Regions from separate parts of the Homo sapiens genome. Here all the other regions are linked to region 1. The links are contacts of gene promoters, found by promoter capture Hi-C in blood cells and fetal thymus (Javierre and others, 2016). All regions are on one chromosome and are shown on one strand. The core of a region is centred on a gene start or on the middle of the fragment in contact, and the rest is flanking DNA. Distances in the headings are between cores, read along the strand shown. Region 1 holds the start of ZC2HC1A (zinc finger C2HC-type containing 1A). Region 2 overlaps LINC02235 (long intergenic non-protein coding RNA 2235). Region 3 holds the start of SNX16 (sorting nexin 16). Region 4 holds the start of ZFAND1 (zinc finger AN1-type containing 1).

Region 1 (5,235 bases), core at 1,438-3,937:
AGATTTTGTGGGGCACAAATTTTATTAGATGAAAAGGAATTAAAAGGTTTTGCTATAACTATCTACAGAATGTAGAAGTGCTCAGATATTGATTCTACAAAAACAGATAACTTATATTTCATTTCAAAGTATAGTGTTTGAGCCTAATACCTCATCTATTGACTATTCAAGAAGCATAAAGACCCTGAAGACCAAAAGTAAAACAAATGGTATATGATTACATGCAAATAACGTAAGTTATAAGAAAGAGTAAGATTATCTTTAATAGAAATTTTCAAGAGTCCATATATTTTCTTGTTTTATAGCCAAGATTAATGTCTGGTAACTGGTTTCAACTAGAAACATATGTCTAATGCCAGAGTACAATATTTACGCAATTACTCTGACACATTAAGCAAACTTTTGAATATTTCTTACTGGATACTGCAATATAATATTTATTAAACACCTTCAAAGTACTAGACTTTAACTTCCAATAGAGGTAAGAAACTACCTAATCTATCACTGTATCAATGTTTCTAGAATGAAAGAATGGATGAATTAATGAACGGTAACCTTAAGACTCAGAGTTTGATATTTGCAAGGTGTGATCTCTTAGGGGAGGGAGAGGGGAGAAGGAGGAAGGAGAGAAAGGCACCATCCTAACTTCAACAGAAAATTCTCAAGAGCTTTTATTAGATTGAACTGCTTGAAATTACCAGAATTCAACTGTTTTGCCCTACATAATTTAGGGCAACTTCACATATTTCAACTCAGTTTATCACAATTAAACACATTATAGTTAATGATAGCATCTTATTTTGTAAAAAAAAAAAATCTAAAAGTAAAGGGCAAGCACTATTAACATCATAAGCTGGGCCCTATAACATCATAAGCTGGACCCATAAAATATGCCTATAAATACAGAATCCTACCTTTGTCCACCTATGCAACTGAGTGTCATAATAGGTTTCCATTATATTTTAAAAACATTCGTAGTAAGGTTTCAATAGTAATATCTTAGCACTGTTAAAATGTAAGGTCCACTAAAATGTAGGTTCGATGAGAGTAAAGCTTTATCATTTTTATTCTTTGCTGCAACCTAGAACCTAAAAAGATGCCCATAATAGACATTTATTTAACAACAAATATTTATTGAGTACCTACTTTGTGTCAGACATTGTTTTAGGTGCCTAGGATACATAAGTGAAAAATCAGATGATGATCTTTGTCTTAATAACAAATGTTGAATAAAATAATAAAAATCTGCAAACTGTTCAAAACACTTTATAGATAATATGTAATAAAACCTTATCATATTATATATGATAATCTCATGAGAATTCCATAACCCATGCTTTAATCCCACCAAGATACAAAAGTATCTTGAAAGTAAAATATACTGTACTATCATTACAATTCCTTATTTCATGGAAACTTGAATTATCTTCCAAAAACACATAAGCAAAAAACAAGACCTTCATTAGGCCATAGCATACTGCAGCTGTCCACAAACGGAAAATTATCAGAATCATTTATCAGAGCAAAAGCACGAAATAAACTTCTACTCATGTTATTACATCTGCTTTTTGGTGAATAGGTGACTGAAAAAGTTACCGGCTACCACTTTGCACTTCATCACACAATGTAGAATATTTTACTCCCTGGCATGCAACAATACACAAGACTCAAAAGCTTCTGCTCATTCTTAATTCCAACTGAATCCGTGTAAACTAGGAGACGGGGGAAAGGAGCTAAATCAAGACAATAGGATCTTTCAATTCTGAAGGTTTGTTCTTCATCATAACAAATTAAAAAATCTTGAAACTGTTGTTGCCAATGCTAGTTATTGTGGTTTTTGTCCTTCCTTTGTTTTTAGGTGAATGCTTTCATTACACAGGATAAAATGGGTAAACAGAATAGAGAAAAAGTGAAAGAACTGGGAACAAAGCAAAATCTGGAGTCATGGTTACAGTACAAAGATAAACCCAAAGATAAGGAACCAATACAGGCTCTTCCTCACACAGCGGCCGTGAATAAGTCATCAAATCCTCCGGGTAATCTATTGTACCGGCTCTAAAGCTGGCCAGTGACACTTCCTTAGGAGATGCTCTGACATCCCTCCGACAGAAGATGCTGTCGAAATGTAAAAAGCCGGTTACCTAGGGAAATCGGCCAAGGAATGTCAGGAGCTCGAGGCTGGAGACACACCCCGGGGCTGCAGCACAAAGTGGCCTGTTGGTGTTAAGGCCGTGGACAATAATGGAGAGAGTCCAGTACAAGGAAAACAAAATCTGGCCAGAGACTGGGATCACTAAAAGGGCACTCAGGAGTCAAGCAAGATCAGAAAATGGTAGGAAGAGACGTGCAGGCGTCTTGCCAGGGGCAGGATCTGGCTCCGGGCGGGAAAGCCCAGTTGAAGACCGTCTGAGGCGGGGCAGCCTGGTAGCGTTAGCTCCACCGCATCGGGGACTGTCCGGTTCCCTTCGGCCCCAGCCTCCGGAGGCGCGGCGGGACGCGGCGAGGTCCGCCGCACCGAACCAGCCCTCGCCTTCCTGCTACTGGTGTCCAGGGTCCCCAGCTGTTTCGGGCCCGCTCTAGCCGTCCTGCCCTCATCCCTTCATCGCCTCACCTTCCAGTCCCTCCATCGCGCCACCTCCTCGAGCTCAGCGAGACTCCTTCAGCAGCGCCCGCCACCGCCCAGCTCTGGCTGTAGCAACCCAGCCGCACCTCCCACCCGCTAACATTCCGAGCTCCCATTGGTTCCGCAACTGCGGGGGCGGGGATCCGTGGGGGCGGGGCCGCGGCGGAGGCGAGGTTCCTGCGGTCTCCTCCTGGCTGCCACCCCTGTCCGTCTCTCCGGGTTACTCTCCAGGGAGCCGGGAGCCGCTTCAGGTTGCAATCTGCGATGCAACGGCGCCTTTGTTTGACTCCAGCCTTGTTTTGCCTCATACCTTATCCTCCTATTTAGAGTACCTCAGCACCTCATGGGCTCCGCTTCACCAGTTCCTCAATCAGTCAATGCCTCTGACTTCTAGCCGCCATCCCTCCCAGTGGATACTTTAAGCAGGCAAGCAAACCAAACAAACGCCCAGCACGCTTGCATGCAGCAATCTCCGTTTTCCGGTCTTTGGTCGCATGACTTGACCTCAGCGTATCCCCTACACTTGATCTTCACACACAGCTTCATAGGTTAAGACACTTTTTTTCCAGAGAAATCATACTTTCTATCTGCGATTGTGGAACTGCGATTGCTCTAAGCCCTTGAAAACAGTTTCCTCACCATGAAAGCTTGGGCCAAAAATTAGAAGTGAAACCCAGCCCTCCCTCTGTCTTCTACTCTTGGCCTACCTTGGCCCTATACTTTATCATCCATAAACCAAAACAGTCGCCTGGCCTGACAATGTTTGATCGGGGAAGTTTGAGTTGGGGAATTAACCTACAACCTGACAGAATGAGGCCCGCCCGTCTCTAACAGAGTTCAAAACCTCCTGAAGATGAAAGTAACTTCAAAACTAACTCAGACCATTTTAACGGTTTTGCTTACAATTACCAGAACTACATTTCTTTGAAAATTTGATTTAGCAATCGTAAACAAGCTGTACTGTTTGCTGACTATAGCGTATCTACTGGCAAGTTACCAGTATTAATGTGTTGTCCATAACAAACCTCGGATTAATGTTATTGTTAATCTGTTTAATTGAAGAGTTTAACTTCATATCTAACTTCATCTACTATGAAATCAGTTACCTTCAGGAAGCAGGATTCCTCCTACTCTCCACTCACATGAAGGTATGTTTAAACAAGCAAACACTTGAGGGGGCATCATCTCTTACTGAGAAGGTGCTCCAAGTGCATTTGAATGTGGTAGAGTCCATCTGTTGTGTGGAGCCATGTAAAGACCACTTCAACCATGCCTCAATGACTCCCTCCGCCCTTCCCTGGTTCCCCTGGCTCTTCTGCTTCTCTGAGATCCTGGGCCTCCTTGGCCAACCCATAGCCTTGCAGGCAATAAGCTACTCTAGACTGGGTGCTGCGGAAAGGTCCTTTTTCTTCCTTAGTGCTACTAAGGCAAAGGTAGAATTTTTGGTTGGGAGGGAAGGCCTTTTAAAAGAGCATTAAGGAGAAAAAAAAGCACACAGAAGAAAATACAAAAATAAGGAAGCCATTATTTTACAAATTACAAGTTCTTTCACTGAAGGCAAGACGAATATTGAGTTGGCTGATACCTTATTCGACATAAAATCTACAGTAACATTAAAAATAATAAAAATAGCATTAAAGAATAAATCATGTGAGGCATGTTTTAGGCCATTTTCATATATTCACAAATCTTCAAAAGAAATCTACAAAGTAGATACTACAATCTTCATTTATCAGAATTAAAATGTTCATTTTCTAGATGTCTCAGAGCAATTAATATTTTGTCAATATTTGTATTATTAGTGGATGGTAGAGCTTGGCTACACTCTTGTCTGTTAAATTCTAAAGCCTATGGTGATTTGATTGGGCTCCTCACTCCCTTTCCTTGCCTTGCCTTTTATTATAGCTGCCTCAAGTGTAAACCCAAGCGTTCAGACATGTTGTTTAACATATATTTGAGTAGGCATTTCTATTGTGAATCTTAATTCTCTAAAACATGATTGCTAGTCTTCCCTACAGGTATCTTCATAACTTTTATGCTTTTGGTCTCTTCATAACTTTTACGCTACAGCTACCCTGGCTCCTGCAGCTTTTCCCTGATTCTGACCCCTGAGTAAAGAGGACTTCTTCCTATCTGCCTTCAATAAGTTCTTTCCTCTGCCGCCTACATACCTAGCCTGAGAGTCTTGTCTTGGCACTGTATCATGACATTACTTCCTCTCCAGTCTAATCCATTTTTCGGCATGCATTCATTCAACAAATGTTTGTTGAGTACCTTCTATGCTTCAAGTCCATTTTATCACTAGCCAGTTACTCAAATGAATGAAACTCAGCTTCTTCTCATGTTTTTAAGCACTTACCTGTACATAATTTTTCTACCTGCCATGTGATCTTGTTAACTGAAAATAACATTTATAGATCAATAAGAATTCGAGATCTTCTGACCTCCTTATCATACAAAAAGGAAAACAAACTTTCAGAGATGTTTCTGACTTGGTCAAGATCACAAAACTAGTACTTAACTGAAATAGATATTGTATCTGTGTTTTATTACATCATACCTTGATTCTTTCCACTTTGCATTATATTGCTTTCAACCACCATTCCCTTAAG
Region 2 (5,235 bases), core at 835-3,334, 3.2 Mb before region 1:
TTAACCTAACACCACAGAAAGGAGAACAGAAAGTCTCGCAATCATCCAAACCTGAAATCTGTCCTATTTCTAGATTTTTCTGAGAATTAAACCAAAAATTTTCTTACTAATTTTTCAGCAAGTTTAAGCTATAGTTTCTATTATTTATACCCCCAAAGCATACTACCTAATTCAGGATGTGGTATTAAAAGATGAAATGGGCTGAGTGAGAGACGCAGGGTACAGGGCAATATCTTCTATTGAGTAGTAGGCTATCCTGATTATGAGGTTGAAAAAATAAATGTTGTTTAAACTGTTAACTGCTGTGATGGGAAAGAAACAGCCACACTTCATAAACACTGCATTCTCCAAAAGGGCACACCATCCTATCTTAAGACCTCCTCTAACAGTACCTGGGTGATGTTGGTGATTGGGCCAGTTCTCTGAACTGGCACTCCTCGATAAGAATTTTGGAAAATATTGTAGCTTTAACTACTTGTGCGCTATACTCTTAGGACATGGGGACACTTAGCAACTTGTATCTTCAGCTTTGGATTTTAGCTATTTCAGGACAACATAGAAATCTCATTTGTCACCTAGGTGCATAATCTTTATCTCTATGTTTATACCTTTATCTATACTTACAGCCATAGCCATACCTATGCCTATATGAATATCCATATACATGCTTATATCTATATTTATACACATATATATCCATATTTATGCACATGTCTATGTATAAATATATACATCCAGCTGCATACTTAATACAGTTATGCATCACTTAACAGCAGGTATACATTCTGATAAATGCATCATTAGGTGATTTTGTCATTGTGCAAACATAGAGTGTACTTACACAAACCTAAATAGCAAGGAGGCTGAGAAAGCAAGTATATTAAAATTTACAATTTTATATTGGGAAGTGTGCTCTGACCTCTTACCAAGATACATAGGGCAGAAATTCCCCAGGCACAGCAAAAGATTCAGAGAGTTGGCTACCAATAGGGTCCATTAGAGAGTTGTTACATGAGCTTCTGCCACACCTAGGCTTATTACACATCTAGGCTAGATGGTACAGCCTATTGCTCCTGTGCTACAAACCTATACAGCAGGTCACTGTACTAAATACTATAGGTAATTGTAACACTATGGTGTCTGTATATATAAACATCTCTAAATATAGAAAAGGTAATGTGTTGTGCTATGACATTACAATGGCTACAACATCTGTAGGTGATAGAAATTTTTCAGCTCCAATATGATGTTATGGTACCACCATCAGATATGCAGTTCATCATGATCAAAACATTGTTATGAGACACATGACTATACTGCATTGTTGTAACATTAGAATTATTATAACAGTTAAACAAGTAAATATATGTAGATGCTCAACTGATATTTGTCAAAAAATTAAAGGTTCCTGCAAAATTTTAAATTCTCAATAAAGGTTAGCCATTATTATTTGTATCTATTGTATCTATCGTAGTATAGATAGTTACAGCAGAAAATCCTAACTTAAGCTTGCTTATCAATAGAAAACATATTATCTCATGTAATTTCAAATTCAAAAGCAGAGTAGACTCTGGGTACAGTACAATCAAAGGCTCAATGATATTATCTAAATGCTTTATCATTCTTCATTCTGCTGTCCTCCTATTGGCTTCATTCGGAAGAGATTCCCTTGCAATTGCAAGATGACTGCCAAAGGCAGTCAGGACTCTGTGCTTTTTTTGTTCATATGCAATTGAAGAGAAGAGGAGAATATTTTCCCCCACGCACAAGAAATAAGTACTTCTCTTCTCTTAGCCTTTTTCTTGGCCCTTTTCTTCACATGCTTATGTAACAAGCAGCCAAAAGTTGCTGTGTCCAATTTAAGGAAGATATTAAGGATATTGACTAGCTCATAGAAATTCTAGAAAGCTTGGGGACAATGCAGCCAGAAACAAAGCTTCAAACTAAACCACAAAACTAGTCTTGTGAGGATGCTGTTACCACTGAACATTAGATCCTATACTTCAGACACCAATCAGGTTCATTTGATTAGCATGCCTAGGGCATGTATCTATACATTAGTTTCAAAGGAGGCTGAGAAAGCAAGTATGTTAACAATTTACAATTTTATAGTTGGAAGTGGGCTCTGACCTCTTACCAAAATACAGAGGGCAAGGATTCCCTAGACACAAAAAAGGATTCAGAGAGTTGGCTGCCAGTAAGGTCCATTAGACAGTTGTTACAGAAGCTTCTGCCAACTCAGCCACCCACGCAGTATGGTGCTCCCTGAGGAGAAGAGGATTGTGAACAAAACTGAAAGAACTGGCTCACTAAACTCTGTAATACTTTCAGATTCATGTAAAAATTAAAGAAGCTTCTCCATTTCAGTTGACTTGTACTGAGTCTCCAGCTTAGTGGAGGTAGGTAGTATTACCGACAGCTCTCTAGCTTGCATCCATAGTGTCAGAATTTAACTCAAGAGACACTGCATGACTAATCTCTTTTAGGGCAAAGGCTAGTGCAGAACTGTCAAGGCAAGCAGTGACTCAGCCAGCGGCAAAGGCAATGACAGCACCTCATCCAGCAACAGTGACAGGGAACAACAACCAGAACAGATTCCCTAAAGCATTGAATATGCCTTTTAGGGATGCCAAGAATATTCAGGAAAAGAAAAATCTACAAGTGCCTGAATTCCTTAACAAGGAAGTCAGGGTTTGAAATGAGGAGGAATTGGGTATTAAATTTAGAAATCTAATGTCTCAGGGACATATGGATCACATATGTGATTAGAGAAACATCTAGCACTTACTTCCTGGAATTGGAGCTCTTACAAGAAGGAAAAGGGAGCACTTTTGATAACAAGTTTCCCTTTTTCTTGTGAGGCAGTTTTCCTGGAAGCTCAGCCACCAGATTTTTGCAAGGTTGTTTTCTTGTAGACACTAAAATTTCAGCAGTCATGACACATTCTCAGAAAAACTTGATTTGATACCCCAATCTATAATTGCTTCACTTCCCCCACCTAAGCAACTCTTACATTACTCTATTTTATTTTCTGCAAAGAATATGAATATAAATTCTTAAAACTTAGTTATTATGTTTATGACTGCTCCTGCATAAGCCTTCACCAGAGTCCACCAGAATATGGACCTCATGAGAACAGTGAACTTGCATATCTTGTTACTAGTAAATTCCTGCAGTCTTAGAACAATAACTGGCACATACGGTAGACACTCGAGAAATATTTGTTGAATAAGTATTAAGATCTGGCTCCTCATAGAACTAAGGCCATTATTATAACCATGCAAAAATTCCAGTTTTATGCCTGCAAGTCTTTAATTCAATTCAAACAATATTGTCTCATTATTAAGCAACTTCTATATAATATCATTTACACATTTCTGCCTGGGACACTCTTCTACCCAACTATATTCCTCGTCTCCTCTCCAGAAACATGCTTCAACTGATCAACACCTTCCAATCTGTCTGGTTGATCCAGTCTTTCAACATGGAAAATGAAAGAAGTGAGACATCAGAACTAATACCAGAGAGTAAGTCAGAAAAACAACAGAAGACTAGAGGACAGAATAGGCACAGGATAACATCAGTTTACCAAGATGAAATATTTTTAGGGGCCAAAGCTAGGGTGCATAAATTATGCTAGAATTAGCTAATGGTCAAAGTGAAAGAAAAAAAACTGAAATCATTTGGGCTAGATACTATGTGTATTAAATGGTGTGCAGAAACCAGGACTTCCTGGAACTAAGTTCAGAGACTTAGTTTTCAACCAGTGTCTTGCCAAGTGTGGCTTTTCAAAGGTCCAGGCTCCACTTCCAAGAGTGAAGGAGAATGTAAGGCGGAGTGGGAATCTGGCATGGGTTTTGGAGACAGAACTGGTTTTGAGTCCTAATGATGCCAAACAAGATAACTTCTCAGAATAACTTTCCCAAAGGACAAGCTAATCAACCTCTCAGCAACTCAAATCTGTGAAATACAATTATATTAGTAGTACCATCTCACTGGATTATTGTGGGGTTTAAATAAATCAATGTAATGTGTTAATTTATTATGGAACTCATTTCACAACTTATACAAATATTGAATCATCATGTTGTACACCTTAAATTCATACAATTTTATTTGTACATTGAAGCTAAATAAAACTGGAAAAAACAAATAAGTAAATAAAAGTCCATAGGAAAAAACAGAAATATGGGTCAAAAATTAATGGACAAGGTCAACAGCACAGTTCTCTGCTCTTAACTGCTATTTGTTCATTTAACAAATATCTATATACATTATTACTAATATTGTTTACATCTTTTAAAGTAGCTGAGCTGCCTAGTTGACTCAGGAGGTAATGATAATAGCTATTGGATTTTTTTGGCAGTCACTTTGCTAAGCATTTAACAAGCAGGATTGTTTTTAGTTTTCAAAATAACCTCATAAGAACTATCATTGCCCCATATTTCACATGAAAAACATCAAAAGTAACCCAAACAAAAGACTCGTGGGTAAGCCAGATGTTTAAGTCCTCCCTGAAGAGGTATCAAGCTCCTCTAGAAGATAAGCGGGAATCCTGGTGTTGATGGGTTAGAGACTTGCTGCCTTTTCAAGGATGTTTTCTCCTTGGAAACTTTTTTTTCTTTCTTTTTTGGAAGAGTCTCTTATAAACTGGGGTGTTAAAATCCCTAGCACTGGGAACTCAGAGAATATATATCATTCTCTACACATATGCCACGAGTTATCTCAAACTCACTTAAGACAAAGACTTAAATACACAATAATGTCTGATTCATTGGTCTATTTAATTTCAGAAGTTTAACTTTTTTAAAATTTTATTTTGGCTCTTCCTAGTGCCTTTTATGGATCTTAGCAATGCTAACTAGGCTGTAATATTTATTTCGTTATTGACTTCAGATTTCCATTGATAGACATAAACTCAAGAGTTAGATCTGAAGTGGACCTTAGAAATTATCTATATAGCCCACTGATTTACAAATTACTCAAATAATTAAAGGTGTTCTTTCTCTTTAACCAGAGCTGTTTCGCTTTTGTTTTATGGAGTGAGCTTCCATTTATTGTTTCTACAAAACATAATTTCACTGAGAATGTGTGTGTATAGGTTTATTTATATTAAACCACCACACTGATCTAATAAGAAAACTTTACTCATTTTCATTTATTTAATCATTCAGTTTAGCACCACTAAGTGCCCATGTTTCTTTCAGCCAGTGGAGACGAAAACAAAAAAGACAC
Region 3 (5,235 bases), core at 1,344-3,843, 3.2 Mb before region 1:
GGAATTGTAGTCTTCTCCTGTTTGGCAAACTAGGTATTGTAGCCTCCATTTCTCAGAAGTTCAGTTGGAAAACTAAAGATAGTGCAGAGAATGTCGATTTCCTGCCACAAGATTACATTTATCTTCGCTACCTGAGCGCCCAGCCGATCAACTCCAGTCGCTCCTCCGGTGGGCGGGCGCCCATGCCGTGACATCACTTCCGGCAGAGATGTGTGTGTGACGCTCTCTCTCTCTCTCTCTCGCTCTCGCTCTCTCCCTCGCTCGTTTTCTTTCTCTTTCTCTCTCTCTCTCTCTCTCTCTCTCTCTCTCTCTCTCTCTCTCTCTCTCTCTCTCTGTCTCTCGCTCTTGCCCTCTCTCTCTCTCTTTCTCTCTGTCTCTGTCTCTCTCTCTCTCTCTCTCTCTCTCTCTCTCTCTCTCTCCCTCCCTCCCTCCCTCCCTCCCTCTCTCTCTCTCTCTCTCCCCCCCCCCCCCCCCCCGCCCAGTTCGGCCCCTCCTTCCACACAGCAGGGATCTTGGGCCCGGGCAGAGACTGGCTGAGGCGGGGAGCAGCTGCTTTTGGGGCGGGGGTGTCACGTGAGGCTTCTCGCTGCTGAGGGAGGAGGCGAAAAGCTGCGGTTAAGGAGAGTCCGGTTTAACCGTCACCGGGAAGCGCGCTCGTTCGGGATCGCCGAGGGGGCTGAGGTAAAGACTGGGTCATTACCTCAGGACAGGCGGTCGCTGTCCCGGGTTCTCGTACGGGTGACACCTGCAACCTTGATGTCTGGCGGGCGGCAAGGGGCTCCGCGGGAGAGTGGAGAGGCGCCGCAGGAAGCCCAGCCACCTTCAGGCCACCGCCGACCCCACTGTGCGTCTGGGAGGCGCTGGGCGCGCACCGGTCAGCGGAGGCGGGAGAGTCTGTGATCCCAGGGAGCTGCGGGTCTCGCCGCCTGCAGTGCGGAAGACCCGTGACCGGCGCAGACCCCGGCCTTACCTTCCGAGGGTCGAACTGTGCCTGGTATTTGCCTCTTTCCTCCCGCCCACGGGGTTGCTCAGAGTCGGGCCACCTCACCTGAGGTTTTCCAGAGTGAGAATGAACTGAGCGTCCTGGGAGCAACTCCGCATCAGGGTAGAGGCGAAGACGCTCCTAATGAGCACAGCACGTTTTTTTGTTTGTTTGTTTGCTTGTTTTGTTTTTTTAACGCTTGGGTAGCGCTCACATCTTCGGACGTCAGTGGTTGTGTTGATATGTATTGATATGCGACCTCCCCCCAGCCAGGCGGCCTCAGGTAGTAGAGTGGCAAAGGCCAGGTAGATCCCTCGGACCTTGAGAAGGTTGAGATTTCAGACTTACTTGTTTTTGGGGAGGCCGTCAGGCGGAACCGAGGAGCGGTGAATCAGCAGCTAAAGTTTCATGAATCTTTGATAATGGGGAAATGTTGCCGAGAGCCACTTGAGTTAAAAATCTTTTTTTTTTTTTTTTTTGAGACGGAGTTTTCCTCTTGTAGCCCAGGCTGGAGTGCAATGGCACGATCTCGGCAAACTGCAACCTCCGCCTCCCGGGTTCAAGCGATTCTCCTGCCTCAGCCTCCCAAGTAGCTGGGATTATAGGCCTGCGCCACCATGCCCGGCTAATTTTTGTATTTTTAGTAGAGACGGGGTTTCACCATGTTGGCCAGGCTAGCCTCGAACTCCTGACCTCAGGCGATCCACCCGCTTCATCCTCCCAAAGTGCTGGGATTACAGGCGTGAGCCACAGCGCCCAGCCCAGAGTTAAAAATCTTATTTCAGCATCTTTCCAAGTCCAGGTGACTCATTTCTTACCTTTCCCACCAGTAGAGTTTCGTATGAAAAGTTGGGCAGTTATTGTTGTGTGTAGTCTTGTCATTTTGTTGGTCTGTAGTTGTTACAGTTTCTTATGAGTTTATTATTTAACAAAGTAATAGTAAACCATTTCTTCTTTGTGTTATGATACTATTCTGACACAAGATATACTGGTCCGTTTGATAACAGATTCTTGAGTGTAAGTTATAAAGATTTAAATACCCTCAGTTTATCGTAGAGCAGAATTAGTGATGACCTGTAAGCTGTGAAGAACGGTTACAATTTTCACTATTTAATTTTGTTGCATATAAGTTCAGTGTTCACTGGGTTTTATTTGAGTAACTTGACCAAGTGTGTATTTTTAATCCTGGGTTCTATAGAATTATACTATGTAGCATCAAAGCATCTGGTTCATTGTTACTACTCTGTGTAAATCTTTATAGTTTCACTAATTAAATTGAAAGGTAATGTGAATAGATTTCCTCCCTTTCTGATTAAATCCAGAGGTAATGTAAATAGTTTTCTTCCTTTTCTTTTTTCTCTCTTGTACTGAATGTAGTACTGTCAAGATGATAAGCATGGAATAAAGCTTCAGAAGGGTCTTTACCAATCTTTCTCCTACCAACTTTTACATACATGAAATCAGGTTAAAATGAACTTTACAGAAATACTTCACAAGGGAATAAAGTAGAGGAAAAAGGGATAACATGTAACATGGAGTCAAGGAAAAAGAGTGTGAAGTAGTTTTGCTCTCTCTATCTTGCAAATAGGAGTCCTTAAAGACAACTGGGAGAAGGGGTTTGAGGTATGTTTTCATTCCAAATAAAATAATAGTGTCATAAAATTGAAAAGAATACTTTTCTTTTGAATCCTGCTGCACATTAAAGACTAACCTTTTAATATGTCCTTTTCATTTTTAGATAGTGAATTCCTAAGAAGAAAATAATGGATTGCATATTAGTTGTTCTCTAAGTGGACTCAACAGTGTGCAAGCTTGTTGGAAAAGCCAAAAGAAGATGGCAACTCCTTATGTCCCAGTTCCTATGCCCATAGGAAACTCTGCTTCCAGTTTTACAACAAACAGAAATCAAAGAAGTTCTTCTTTTGGCAGTGTCTCAACAAGCTCAAATTCTTCTAAGGGCCAGTTAGAAGACTCAAATATGGGTAATTTTAAACAGACAAGTGTTCCTGATCAAATGGATAATACTTCATCTGTCTGTAGCAGTCCCCTCATTAGGACTAAATTTACAGGTACAGCTTCTTCCATTGAGTATTCTACTAGACCAAGAGACACTGAAGAACAAAATCCGGAAACAGTGAATTGGGAAGATAGACCATCTACACCTACTATACTGGGTTATGAAGTGATGGAAGAAAGAGCTAAATTTACTGTAAGTATTGACTTCTGCTGTATAACACTACAAAGTGAAAGATTGGCTAATCTCTGTGTTCAAACCAGTGTTAAATTAATGTAAACTTGTACTTATAATTTCTTGAATATGAAATTCTAATGGTTTTTACACCACTGAATTCTATCATGTTGTAGTAAACTTTTGCTTTACCTTAATAAATTTTCACAAACCAGACACACCTATGTAACTATTAATAGCACATAAATCAAGGAAAAGAACGTTACTAGAATCTTAAATGCTCTAGGTTCTCTGCCAGTCAGGACCCATTCACCCAATACTTTTGTATAGCCTAGATTAATTTTGCCTATTTTTGTACTTTATCTAAATGGAATTATATACTCTTTTTGCATCTGGTCTCTTTTCTTTAGCCTTGCCAAATTACATGCCCAGCTTTAAAAGATATTGGTGAACAGTGTTTCAGAATGGTTGTACTGATTTATACTCCTAAAAGCAGCATATAAGAGTTCCAGTTGATCCATAGCTTCCTAACATGTGATATTTTAACATTTTTATCATTTCAGCTGTTCTCATGGGTACAGAGTAATATCACATTGGTTGTGGTTTTAATTTGAATTTTCTTAATGACTAATTGAATTTAAAATTTTTTTGGGCTGTTTGGATATTCTCTTGTGAAATATCTGTGCATGATTTTTGTTCATTTTTCTTTTGGGAAGTCTCCCTTTTGATTTGTAGTTTTCTGTGCACTTTGGATATAATTTTTTTTTCAGATACATGTATTATGACTATCCTCTCACTCTGTGGTTTGCCTTTTCAATTCCTTAATAATACATTTGATAAACAAAAGTTCTTAATTTTAATTTGGCTTGATTTATTACTTTTTTTAATGGCTAGCACTTTTTGAAATCTTTGCCTACTCCAAGGCTACAAAGATACTGTCCTATGTTTTCTTCTAAAATCTTTATTGTTGGACCTTTCACATTTAGATTCGTAAACCACCAGAATTGATTTTTGTCCATGGTGTGAGGTGAGGGTCAAGTCTTTTTTTTTTTTTTTTTCCAGATGGGACCAATTAATCAGGCTTTTATTTGAAAGACCACTCTCTCTCCTCTTCATTTTCAGTGTTGTCTGTGTCATAAATCATGTGACCATAAATGCATGGGTCTGCTTCTGTGTTCTATTTTTTCATCCTTTACTAATTTCACACTGTCTTAATTAATAAAGTCTTATAATAGGTCTTGATATGTAGCAGTGTATGTACTTTAGCTTTTTTCTTCAGGATGGCCTTGGCTATTCTTCACCCTTTGCATTGAGATTTTGTTAGATCTATAGATTAATCTGGGGAGAACTGACATCTTTACTGAGTTTTCAAATCTATGAACCTAATCCATTTACTTAAGTCATTTTTTTCTAGTAATGTTTTGTTGTTTTTGGTGCAGGGTTCTTACATCTGTTGGTTAGATTTATTTCAGGATATGGATGTTGTTTGATGTTCTTGTGAGAGACATCTATTTTTGTTTTCTATTTACTGCTATTTTATATAATTTGTCCTTTTATGTTTACATATCCAGCAACCTTGCTCAACTCTCTTATTAACTCAAAAGGTTTACTTTTTTGGTAAGACTTTGTTCTTTTAGTAAAGTTTAATGTTTACTTCAATGTTTCATGCTGTAAATTTATGACAGGATGGGAGGACCTCCAAGGAAAAATTGTTGAGATAATTTATGAAGAGGCAGTCTTTAAAATTATCATAAGACTGTGATATAGGAAATCTTCAGGGAACTCTGTCTCTCTCTCTCTTTTTAGAAAATTTTTAGAAAATATAAACTGATGGCCAATTTCCTGAATTAAGAAATAGGCATTTATTGAGTTGATACTATGGTCTGAATGTGCGTTCCTTCAAAATTCATATGTTGAAACCTAACCTTCAAGGTGATGGTATTAAGAGATGGAGCTTTTGGAAGCCAGTAGGTCATGGGAGCAGAGCCCCCATAAATAGGATTAGGACCCTTAAAAAGAGGCCCCAGAGAGCTTTTTGTCCTTTACACATCTGAGGACATAGCTA
Region 4 (5,235 bases), core at 2,036-4,535, 3.1 Mb before region 1:
GGCTTGGTAGCTCTTCTTCAGTCTGGATTGACTGAATTTACTTCCAGTCTGTGGGCTGGGTTCAGGTGTATTCCACATGTGTTCATTCTAGGGCCCAGATTGAAGAGCAGTAGCTACTTGCCCCATGTTCCTCTCATGATGGAGCACTAGAGCACAAGGGCCAAGCCAAACCTCATGTAAGGCCTCTACCTGGGTCAAATTGGCCAATGTTCTATAGGCCAAGGAAAGTTACATGGCCAAGCTCAAAATTAAGGAGGTGGTAAAGTACACTCTGCCCTCAATGGGATGGAAAGAGAGATATTTGCTGACCCATAATTCAAAGTCACACCTGCTAGTTCATAACACTTTGTAAATATTCATATTAAGGGATAATAACCTCAATTAACAACTATGTTCTATTTTATCCACATTTATTAGTATTATATTTAGCAGAAATTTTTCATATGAGAGATTTAAAATCTATACATAATAATATAACTTATAGTGAATGATCACTATAATATGGAATTTTAATATAAACATCACGGCCTTCTTTTCAAATGTATGACAACACATGAGGCATTTTTCCCCTCTTAATTTTAATTTTTAAATGTTATTCTTCAGCAATCATAACTTTTTTTTAAAGGGTGGTCACAGTCACTGAGGATAACTACAGAGACTAAGTTCTTTTTTTTTTTTTTTTTTTTTTGAGATGGAGTTTCTCTCTTGTTGCCCAGGCTGGAGTGCAATGGCTTTACCTCGGCTCATTGCAACCTCCTCAGGTTCAAGCGATTCTCGTGCCTCTGCCTCCTGAGTAGCTGGGAATTCAAGCACGTGCCACCACGCCTGGCTAATTTTTGTATTTTTAGTAGAAACGGGGTTTCTCAATGTTGGTCGGGCTGATCTTGAACTCCCGACCTCAGGTGATCCACCCGCCTCAGCCTCCCAAAGTGCTGGGATTACAGGTGTGAGCCACCGCGCCCGGCCTAAGAGACATTTCTGAGGGAGAATTGACAGTGTTTAATGGCTACTTCCATGAGAAGTAAGAAAGGAGAGGTGGAGAATAAATCCAAGATTGATTGATTGGTTGAATGAAACAAGTATGTGGCAGGCTGCCTTTGTTAGAAAGGGGATGATATGGTAGGAAATTATCCCATTTTGGGCTTAAGACACCATGACAAATGAATGCACATAGATAGATCTATCAGACAGTTGGAAATAGTTACTTCATGTTTGGTAAAGTGTTCTCAGGGCTGAGAATATGGGTATGAGAGTCTTTAATATGGAAGCCATGGGAATTTCACTTGCATGAGGATGTAAATTGATAAATGGACCAAAGACATAAACATAGTGAAATAGATGTGTTTAAGCAGCACCTAGAGAAGAAATCAGCAAAGGAGACTAAATAGAGAAAGCAGAGGTAGCAACTGCAATCTTGGCTACGCTAATCATCTGATGTTCTATGAGGTGTCCAATAACTGAAAAAATAAAAACATATCCATAATAATTGGACTGATAAAACATATATTTGCCACCTATCTAGAACATTCCAAACACCTAGTAAAATTCCAGGAAACCTGTTATTGATTGATCTGATCAACTTAAACATAAAATCTAGGTAAGCCACTGATCCCTAGATCCAAGAATACCAAAAGTCTTTAGTACTTGCATTTTTTGTCCTGGTTCATCCACTAATGTGAGCCAATCATTTAATGTCTATGAACTGGTTTTCTCATCTTAATAAAAGAAAAGCTATGGAGGCTGGGATAGCCAGATGACATCTTATAAAGTTTCTCCAGAGACTCAAGCAATTCTGAGACGGAAATCTTAAATAGATTGGCTCAAGAGCAAATGCAGAAGAAATGATTCCCCTTTCCTAGTGTCACCCTTCGCCCTTCCTCAGTGATTATTGATTGGGAATCTCCAAAGGTATATAGGAGGCATCGAATACTTTTCTAGTTCCTGTCAGGAGTGCAGGTGATTGTCACCCATCCACGCTGAATGGTGCCTGGCATCACGTTGGTGGAATGGCATTCATATGTACCCCACCCAGAAGTACCTCTCCTTCAGTACCTTTGCAGTGGCTCACCAGGCACCTGATACTCCCCTACATCCCAGTGGAATCCCATAAGCTTTCTTCAGGTAGTTGTGCTAAATGAGTCTGGGTTCTCTGAGGAACTCTGTAAGGTTCAGTACACATTCAGGGGCTCAGGAGTTAAGACTTTTTTTTTCCCCCTACCAGAATTTAAAAAAAAAAAAAAAAAGGACAAAGATAAAGAAATATTAACTTTTTAAAAAGCCTGATGACTGTTTTGCAAGGGGCATGTATGTTACACTACATAATCAAGTAACACTGGTTGAGGGATGGCTCAGGAATTGAATAACCCATGTCTGTCTCTTTTGCTTGATTATTGCAACACTGTGTGCCCGGCACTGTTCTGGTTCCTGGAGTTCTACTAACTTTTAAAAAAATAAATGTGAAGCCGTTGCTGATTTTCGTGGCCGTATGCAGGGAACCGCGGTAAGCAGTCGTCCAGAAAGGCAGGTGGGCATTTCTTTTTCATTTTCTTTTTTTATGTTTTGAGACGGAGTTTCGCTCTTCTTGCCCAGGCTGGAGTGCAATGGTCCAATTTTGGCTCACTGCGACCTCCGCCTCCCAGGTTCAAGCGTTTCTCCTGCCTCAGTCTCCCGAGTAGCTGGGATTACAGGCATGTGCCACCACGCCCGGCTAATTTTGCATTTTTAGTAGAGACGGGGGTTTCGCCACACTGGTCAGGCTGGTCTCGAACTCCTGACCTCAGGTGATCCGCCCGCCTCGGCCTCACAGGGTGCTGGGATTACAGGCGTGAGCCACCGCGCCCGGCTGCAGGTGGGTATTTCTTTAAGGACTAGGCGAGAGGCCTTCCGCTCCGAGAAGAACACTCACAGAACAGTGGCCTTTCCTGGTCACGGCGAATGCACCTAGGACAAATCGCACAGCTGGTTTCCAGGCCCCGCCCCCACCTGTAGACTCCGCCTCTGGGTCCGCCACTCTCCCGTCAGGCGCCGCGCGCGCTCATTGCCCCGCCCCTCAGGCTTTGCCCCGCCCCTTACGGCGCCGGAGAGATGGCGGAGTTGGACATCGGGCAGCACTGCCAGGTGGAGCATTGCCGGCAGCGAGGTGATCCGGGAGCTTCCAGCCCCCATCCCCGGCCGCGGGAGACCAGGGCTCCGCTTTGGCTCCGCGGATGGTGGCGGCGGGTGAAGGGAGGCCACAAGGCTGGGCAGGGCCTGAGGAGCGGGGTGGGAGCGTTTCTTCTGGGGCTGCAGTGAGATCGGTTGGTGCGGGTTTTTTTTGGCCGTGAGCTTTTGAAATGACGTGTGGTCTCCTTGGAAGGAAGCCATGCAATTCCTGAGGCAGGGCCTGAGGAGCGGGGTGGGAGCGTTTCTTCTGGGGCTGCAGTGAGATCGGTTGGTGCGGGTTTTTTTTGGCCGTGAGCTTTTGAAATGACGTGTGGTCTCCTTGGAAGGAAGCCATGCAATTCCTGAAAACGTACCTTGCAGTGTTCATTTTGGTGTTCGAGTGTGCCGTGTCCGAGCAGTGCACGAAGCCCACTGCTGGATCGCGTGGCTCACACTTACTCTGCTGAGCGCGGGTATGGGGACGCGTAGGTTTGGTCTGGGACTGTTGTCTTTTGGCTTTGCCACTGCGACCTACGGCCAGCTACTTTCCCATACTTTTTTTTACTTATCTGTTACGTAGCTGTCAGGAGGAGTTGGGGGAGGTCAACTCGCCCAACTAGTGTTCACGTGGATGTGTGTCCGGAAGAAGGCCCTTCCTTAGCTTTTATCAAATTCTCAAAGGCATCCTGATCCTCAGATTATTCCACCAAATGGTCATCATGCTCTCCCAGCTCTGTCATTCCCTGATTCTCATTATTATTGTTTGAACAAACATTTACAGATTATTGATTTTGGTGCTTGGACCACATAAGGGTGTAAACTACAGTCTTTTACACGGAAGACCTTTCCAACTAGTAAGCTGCATTTTAGAGAGAATTAGTTAATAATATGGCAATGGGCTCTCCCCATTGCACTGAGAGACCTTGGGATATACCTAGTCCAAGGTGATGTGGCATTGGCTTCAGGATGCCATACACCTTGAAAAGGCAAGTTTTTGAAGCATTAGAACCACACAGACTGCTCAGTCGTTGTTACTAGGTTTCACACACTACATAAGGTAGCAAACAGGTTTAATCTCCCCTTGGAACTTCAGTCATTGGTATCAAGTGCCTGAATTACCGTGTCAAAGACTCTTGAGATTTAGCCCAGTTTCAGTGGAGTTCCATAATTGATTAGTGATTTCTACTGTGGGAATGCGTGATAGGACAGGTGACACAATCCCTTCTAGGTTCTTGTTACTTATAGCCATCTATCTATCTATCTTTCACCACTGGCTGTAATAACAAGCCAGTGTGACTTTTTTCATGTGGAAGCTTAGCCATTTGGGTTTTGACTGTGAATTATGTGTGTCTATGCCTGATCCTTCGCTAGTGAGTCCAATACACATTATATGCCATTCATGACATAGTTCATTTTCCTTTCCAGCTATATATGTCTTTAGTGTCAATAACTGAGATGAGGCCAGGCCTATCTGTTTGGGACTAGTGGAAAGCAGTTAAGATTTAGACTACGTCAAGTGTATATCCTAAATTTTATCTACCTTCTGGAGGGATTGAAGGATGGTATCAGGTGCTGGGAAGTTGTCTTGACTTAACTCTTTCCCCTGGGTCCTTCTGGTTTGCATCTAATACTTGATTATTAAAAGTCGCAAAATATTAAGCATCTCCACCCAGTCACTGCAGTATTGTCCTTTTTTGTTTGTTTGTTTGTTTTGTTTTGAGATGGAGTCTGGCTCTGTCACCCAGGATGGAGTGCAGTGGCGCGATCTCGGCCCTCTGCAACCTCTGCCTCCTGAATTCAAGCGATTCTCCTGCCTCAGCCTCTTGAGTAGCTGGAATTACAGGCATGAACCACCACGCCCAGCTAATTTGTGTGTGTGTGTGTGTGTGTGTGTGTGTGTGTGTGTGTGTGTGTTTTCAGTAGAGATGGGGTTTCGCCATGTTGGCCAGGCTGTTTTCAAACTCTTGACCTCAGGTGATCCGCCCCCCTCGGCCTCCCAAAGTGCTGGGATTACAGGCTTAAGCCACTGTGCCTGGCCCCTTGCAGTACTGTTCTGAGTTGAGTATACTCAAAAGAAGTTAATTGTTGTATTAT

What was found. The method cuts DNA at HindIII sites, captures the fragments that hold promoters and counts their contacts. A CHiCAGO score of 5 or more calls a contact.
Region 2: a fragment that was not itself captured here is called in contact with the fragment with the promoter of ZC2HC1A in region 1 in 1 of 17 cell types (M0 macrophages); the score reaches 5.2 in M0 macrophages.
Region 3: a contact is called between a fragment that was not itself captured here and the fragment with the promoter of ZC2HC1A in region 1, in 1 of 17 cell types (activated CD4 T cells). The highest score is 6.8, in activated CD4 T cells.
Region 4: a fragment that was not itself captured here is called in contact with the fragment with the promoter of ZC2HC1A in region 1 in 1 of 17 cell types (naive B cells); the score reaches 6.0 in naive B cells.

What each region holds. Positions count from the first base shown.
Region 1 is chr8:78,663,541-78,668,775 of GRCh38, reverse strand. It overlaps ZC2HC1A (zinc finger C2HC-type containing 1A), which reads right to left and starts at 2,687. Exons shown (of 9, transcript NM_016010.3): 1 at 2,612-2,687. The coding sequence starts at 2,627. It overlaps LOC105375911 (a long non-coding RNA gene), which reads left to right and starts at 2,797. Exons shown (of 4, transcript XR_007060972.1): 1 at 2,797-3,771. RefSeq lists enhancers at 2,534-2,583, 2,548-3,055, 3,056-3,564 and a silencer at 2,654-2,873. The HindIII fragment of the contact is 1,596 bases long and covers 1,677-3,272 here.
Region 2 is chr8:81,856,221-81,861,455 of GRCh38, reverse strand. All of the region lies in intron 5 of LINC02235 (long intergenic non-protein coding RNA 2235), which reads right to left. Among named protein-coding and RNA genes, the nearest start is that of LINC02235, 16 kb to the right of the region's middle. The HindIII fragment of the contact is 291 bases long and covers 1,939-2,229 here.
Region 3 is chr8:81,837,568-81,842,802 of GRCh38, reverse strand. It overlaps SNX16 (sorting nexin 16), which reads left to right and starts at 618. Exons shown (of 8, transcript NM_152836.3): 1 at 618-681; 2 at 2,721-3,191. The coding sequence starts at 2,817. It overlaps LINC02235 (long intergenic non-protein coding RNA 2235), which reads right to left and starts at 184. Exons shown (of 8, transcript NR_170320.1): 1 at 132-184. RefSeq lists enhancers at 1-203, 635-684, 612-1,544 and a silencer at 1,015-1,064. The HindIII fragment of the contact is 404 bases long and covers 2,392-2,795 here.
Region 4 is chr8:81,719,131-81,724,365 of GRCh38, reverse strand. ZFAND1 (zinc finger AN1-type containing 1) reads left to right here and starts at 3,066. Exons shown (of 8, transcript NM_024699.3): 1 at 3,066-3,139. The coding sequence starts at 3,085. RefSeq lists enhancers at 3,111-3,160, 3,088-4,032 and silencers at 3,331-3,400, 3,431-3,570. The HindIII fragment of the contact is 2,343 bases long and covers 2,114-4,456 here.